Linked DNA regions of Homo sapiens: region 1 is linked to region 2. The links are contacts of gene promoters, found by promoter capture Hi-C in blood cells and fetal thymus (Javierre and others, 2016). All regions are on one chromosome and are shown on one strand. The core of a region is centred on a gene start or on the middle of the fragment in contact, and the rest is flanking DNA. Distances in the headings are between cores, read along the strand shown. Region 1 has its middle 5.4 kb from the start of C9orf163. Region 2 holds the start of ABCA2 (ATP binding cassette subfamily A member 2).

The links. Contacts are between HindIII fragments. The CHiCAGO score rates a contact against its expected background, and 5 or more counts as called.
Region 1: a contact is called between a fragment that was not itself captured here and the fragment with the promoter of ABCA2 in region 2, in 1 of 17 cell types (total CD8 T cells). The highest score is 5.1, in total CD8 T cells.

What each region holds. Positions count from the first base shown.
Region 1 is chr9:136,487,560-136,490,259 of GRCh38, reverse strand. No RefSeq gene overlaps it. Among named protein-coding and RNA genes, the nearest start is that of C9orf163, 5.4 kb to the right of the region's middle. RefSeq lists a silencer at 1,350-1,399. The HindIII fragment of the contact is 1,579 bases long and covers 621-2,199 here.
Region 2 is chr9:137,026,798-137,029,497 of GRCh38, reverse strand. It overlaps ABCA2 (ATP binding cassette subfamily A member 2), which reads left to right and starts at 1,261. Exons shown (of 49, transcript NM_001606.5): 1 at 1,261-1,423. The coding sequence starts at 1,358. It overlaps LINC02908 (long intergenic non-protein coding RNA 2908), which reads right to left and starts at 2,034. Exons shown (of 3, transcript NR_171031.1): 1 at 1,587-2,034. RefSeq lists an enhancer at 376-1,120 and a silencer at 1,004-1,183. The HindIII fragment of the contact is 3,387 bases long and covers 1-2,700 here.

The sequences.
Region 1 (2,700 bases), core at 161-2,660, 540 kb after region 2:
GCGGAGCTTGCAGTGAGCAGAGATCATGCCTCTGCACTCCAGCCTGGGCGACAGAGCAAGACACTCTCACAAAAAAAAAAAAAAAAAAAAAAAAAAAAAAAAAAAGTGCTGGCGTTAGTGGAGGTCTCTCAGAGGGGGCGTTGCAGGGCCTCCCACGTTACTCAGGCTTTGCAGACGAAGACGCAGGGTCAGTGAGTGAGCGAGCTTTGGGAAAGGCTGTTCTTCAATCTGCATCTTGAAGGTGGCTGGGTGGCGCCTCAGTCGCCTGCCCCGACGTGACTCCCGATCTGGCTGCTTTGTGTCTTTGCTTTCCACCTGGCGGCTGCTGTCCTGGCTGTTGCTGTACCTCAGTGTCCTCGTGGGTCAAGTGGGGACCTGGGTGCTGGCCCTGGGCCTGCGATGGTGAGCTGCTGGTGCACGCTGGGCATGGGGTGAGGGCTCAGAAAGGGAACAGCTCTTGTTATCGTTAGGAGGTTTTCAATCGCATTCTTTGTTCTCCACCTGCATGCCGTGTTGGCACAGTTAAGCCTGGCGGCCCCTTCAGCAGGTGTCCTAACCGTCTACATTTTAAGATGGACAAGTCTAGGCTCATGGAGATTGCAGGACTGAGCTGCGAAGCTTTATTCATGCCCAACACGACAGGTGCCAGGTGCCCAGGGCCTCAGAGGTGGGTTTCCGTTGTTCTTCACACAACCTTGAACTTGTGGCCCATCCCTGGACCTTACAGCACAGGACACACTCTCAGTGTTTGTTAGGAATCTATAATTTTCTGCGGAGTCACGCGTGATATTTGCTGTGGCTTTTGGTATATCTTCCACTCTATCGCACGGGATTTTCTGGTGAAAATGTGCCCTGGGTCCACACAAACGTGCACATTCTACCACAGCCTTTGTCGTTCTGTTTGGCATTTTTCCATTTAATAAAATGAACCTTAGAAAAGTTATAACTACGGCCAGGCGTGGTGGCTCACACCTGTCATCCCAGCACTTCGGGAGGCCGAGGCGAGAGGATCACCTGTGGTCAGGAGTTCCACACCAGCCTGGTCAACTGGTGAAACCCCCCTCTCCACTAAAAATACAAAAATTAGCTGGGCACCATGGTGGGCACCTAGAATCTCAGCTACTTGGGGGGGCTGAGGCAGGAGAATTGCTTGAATTCGGAAGGAGGAGGTTGCAGTGAGCTGAGATTGCACCACTGCACTCCAGCCTGGGGGATACAGTGAGACTCGGTCTCAAAAAAAAAAAAGAAAAGTGTATAACTTTACTTTTTTTTCTTTTTGTGGAGATGGAATCTTGCTATGTTGCCCAGGCTGGTCTCAAACCCCTAGGTTCAAGTGATCCTCCCACTTTGGCCTCCCAAAATGCTGAGACGACAGATGGGAGCAACCTCACCTGGCAAGCGTGCACCTGTTACTTTGGCCGACTCAGAGGCGGCTCTCTGCCTCCCCCTGGTGGCACTGCTCTGCCAGCGCCCCACAGGTCCTCCCGAGTGACCACAGGGCAGAAATGGCCCTCACCCCACGCCCAGGGCCATCCCCCGCGACACTGCTATTATCCTGTTTTACACATGAGGAAGCTGGGGCTCAAAGAGGTTAGGCGACTTAGCCAAGTTCGCCCATTCACTGAGCCAGGGCTATGTGATTCCCGGTCCGTGTCAAACCACGAGGAGTCACCTGCCCTCAGAGGAGCAGGAAGGCCTGTAGAGTTGATGCCATCCAGCCTGGTGACTTTTCAGACAGGGAGACGGCTGCTCAGAGGGGAGAAGGGGGTTGTTGGGCCACTTTGCCAGGAGTCAATACCATGGCCAGCCTGGCATCGGATACTTTGCCAGGAGTTAATGCCACGACTGGCCTGGCATCGAATACTGGAGCTCTTCCCAGCTCCACCCGGGCCCTTTTCTCTTCCCTATCTACAGTCCCCAGGCCACCAAGTCCATGTCCACCACTTAAATCATCACTCAATGCTCAGGACTGTCTCCTGCCTGCTGTGTGTGAACCCCGTGCTGTGCTGGGGTTGTGCCCTCGGGGACTCTCCCGGGTTCTTGGGGACTCTCCTGGGTTCAGCGCCTCTTTCTCCTAGGCCACCCAAGGCTGCCTCCTGGGCCCTGGCTCTCCCTAGCCCCTAGCTCGAACCCTAACCTGGAGAGCCTTTGGGGCCCAAACTGGTTGCATCGCTCCTGGCTGAAAAGCCTCTGGAAGCTTCCTATACTTCCAGACACCACCTGCGGGTCTCTTAGCAAGCCTACAGAGTCCACACTAGCCTACGCCCACTGGCCGCTCACCCCGCAGAAGCCTCATGTGGACTGTTCACTTCAGCCAGAAATGCTCCTTCTCCTCCTGCCTGTCCCCAGCAGACACTGCATGGTGCCCTCTGTATGGGCACCTCTGTGGCCAGCCAGCATCCATGTTCCCCGGAGGCAGAGTCTGGGCTTGTCTGTCTCACGGCCACAGCCCAGCTCCTAGCAGTGCCTGGGGTACAGCAGGGACTCAGCAGACATCTGTGCATGGTTTGGGGATAGAGGACTCGTGAGCTTACCAAGACCCTGCCTCAGCTCAAGGACAGCCAGCAGTTCCTCCTGTGGCCCTGGGGGCCTGCGGTCCCAGGTTACTGTGACATCGACATCAGCCTTGAGCTTTCTGCTTCATTCCTAGTGCTTTTTAGCACCTTACATGGTAAGTACTTGGCTCAATGATTCCAGAAA
Region 2 (2,700 bases), core at 12-2,511:
CAGGGAGCCCCTGTAGTGGACGGTGGAGAGTGGGGCGAGGAGGAGAGAGGCCAACCCACGGGTGGTGCTGACCAGGGCCCCAACAGGCTAAGCCCCCGGGGCTGGGGCACAGGGCTTGTCCCTACCCCAGGTAGGGGTGGGCAGGTTGAGGGCAGGAAGCCCCCCTCACCCATGGCTGTGGCTTGTGGGAAAGACCTGCTGGTAGCTTCCTGCCCTGACCCAGCCCTGTGGACTGAGCAGAGAAAAGCAAGTGCCTTGAGGCTGCGGGCTGGGGTGGGAAGCTGATCCCTCACTCACTAGCCCAGGGTCACCTTCCTGCTGCAAAGGAGCTGGGAGGAGTGGGGAGCTGTGGCCTCGGAGGTCTTCATTCACTTGAGGATGCGCCTTCTATGTGCGCCCTGACACTGGACACCACACAGCGCTACTCCACCCCATTCACAGGGGGGAAACTGAGTCTGGGAAGCGCCGTCAGAGCCACCCATGGGGTCAGCCTGTCCTCTGTCGCTCTCTACAGGCCACGCGGAGGAACTGCCCCACCTCCCGGGGCGCCCCAGCAGGTGCCAAGCCACAGCCGCAGAACCGCCTGATCCCGAACTCCCTGTGCAGAGACCAGACTCGCCCGAATATGGGGAGAAAAACGAGCCGCGTGCAGCAGGGGCCGCCTCGGTCCCCTGCCTGCTCCGCTCACGGCGAGCGTTCCTGGGGCCTCGAGTTTCCCCCCTTCCGCTGGCTGCTCGGAATCGCGGGACGGACCCACCTGGCCGCCCTGCCTCCCTTCCAGGTGGGCACCACCTGGACTCCAAGTGCTGGTTTACAAAGCACACAGGAGACCCTTACGGGGGTGAGCTGGCCCCTCGCCAGCGTCCGCTCGGCGCGCCCCGGGGACAGTGAAGGCTTGGGGCGCCTCTGCAGAGTCGCCAGCGCGGTGGGCGCAGCCGGATGCCTCTGGGAGAAGAGCGCAGCGCCCGAGGGTCCCCCGGCCTACGAAGGCTAAGCCGGGGTCTCGGATTCGATGTGGGCGCGTCGCGTGACGCCCGGCGAGGGGCGGCCCGGAGGCTTCCCGGCGGCGGCGCGCGCAGGGTCTCGGGCCCGGGTCGGTCCCGGGCGCGGCGCGGGCGGCGGGCGCCTCCTGGCGGGCGCGGACGGAGCGCGGCGCCTTTAAGCGGGGGCGGGCGGGGCGCGGGCAGAGTCGCTGTCGCCGCGGCCGCCGGGGCGGAGCCAGCGCGGATCGGGTCCCGGACGCCCGAGCGCCCCGCCCCCGCGCGGGCGATGCCCAGCGGCGCGGCGGGCTGCGGGGCCCGGCGGGGCGCGCAGAGGAGCGGGCCGCGGCGCTGAGGCGGCGGAGCGTGGCCCCGCCATGGGCTTCCTGCACCAGCTGCAGCTGCTGCTCTGGAAGAACGTGACGCTCAAACGCCGGAGCCCGGTGAGCCCACCCCACGCGCCCGCCCTCAGCCCGAGGCCGCGCGCACCGCGGCCAGAGGCGCGCTCCCCGCGCGCACGTGCGGACGGCCGGGCGCGCGCAGACCCCGGCGGGCGCTGGGGGCGGCGCGGGCCCGAGCCCCCTCCCCGCCGGGCCCTGCCCTCGCCTGCCGGCGCTGCGGCCTCCGGGGAGGTGGCTCGGTCGTGTCCAGTCCGGTCCCGCGTCCGCTGACATCGCGGTGCTCGGCTGAGTCACGGCACCCGCGCCCTCTGCAGCGCGCTCGCTGGGGCCGCTGTGGGCGGGGGGCAAGCGGCGCTCAGGACTCTGGCTCGAGGGAGGCCCTGGTTCCCAGGACAGAAGGCAGGCCTGGGGGGCTCCATTCAGCTGCGAGGCTCCATGGTCCTTGGGCCCAGCCTCCCTGGGGTCCCGGAGGAGACCCTGTCCCTTCCCTCCGTCCACCCCTCCCCTGCCCTTGGGCCGCGGCCTGCCATAGAGGTTGGTCCCAGGCATCTCTCCGCCTCCCCTCCTGGCACATCCGTGACCCTTGCTCATGCTCTCGCCACTGGGAATGTCCTTGTGCCAGCCTTGGCCAGCCTGAATCTCTGCACCCATTTGTCCTTTGGGGTCAGTTCTCCCCGAGCCTGATCCACTCTGTTGCCTCCTGGTCCCCCCACCTGCTCTGGGGGCTGGGTCTACTGTTTGGAGCTGTGAACCCCGGCTTTCCCAGCACTGCCTGGGCAGCCAGTGGACCTGAGGGTGCAGGACACATGGCTGTCAGGGACAGAAGTCCTTCGTGGAGCGAGGGGCTTGGGGATATGGGTGTCCTGCCATACCCCCAGCTGGCCAGCTTGGCTCCAGCCTGGGAAGGGAAGGGACACCTCCCAGGCCACAGGCCTGGACCAGCTTAGGTTTCTGAAGGCCCTTGGGATTGTCCAGGCCAGGGCTCAGAGCAGGTGGGGGCCTAAGGCAGACATCCTCTTGCCCAGCCAGGGCCCGGGCGGGACCCCTTGGGCTGCACCAGTCCGTGCCTGTTTATCTTTCAACATGCACTGCAGGAAACCCAGGCTGCAGTCAGCTGGGGTGGCCATCATCACCATGGCTGGCAGAATTCCCCTGGGCACCTGGCCTTGGCGGGGAGCCTGGGTTAGGTACATGCCCTGGCCAGGCACCTGGAGCTGGCTGAGTGGGGTCCCATGGATCAGGCCTGCAGCCCCTGGCATTGAGTCACTGGGGACAGCAGAGCAGGGCCAAGGGAACAGGGATGTGGCATGTGGCATGCA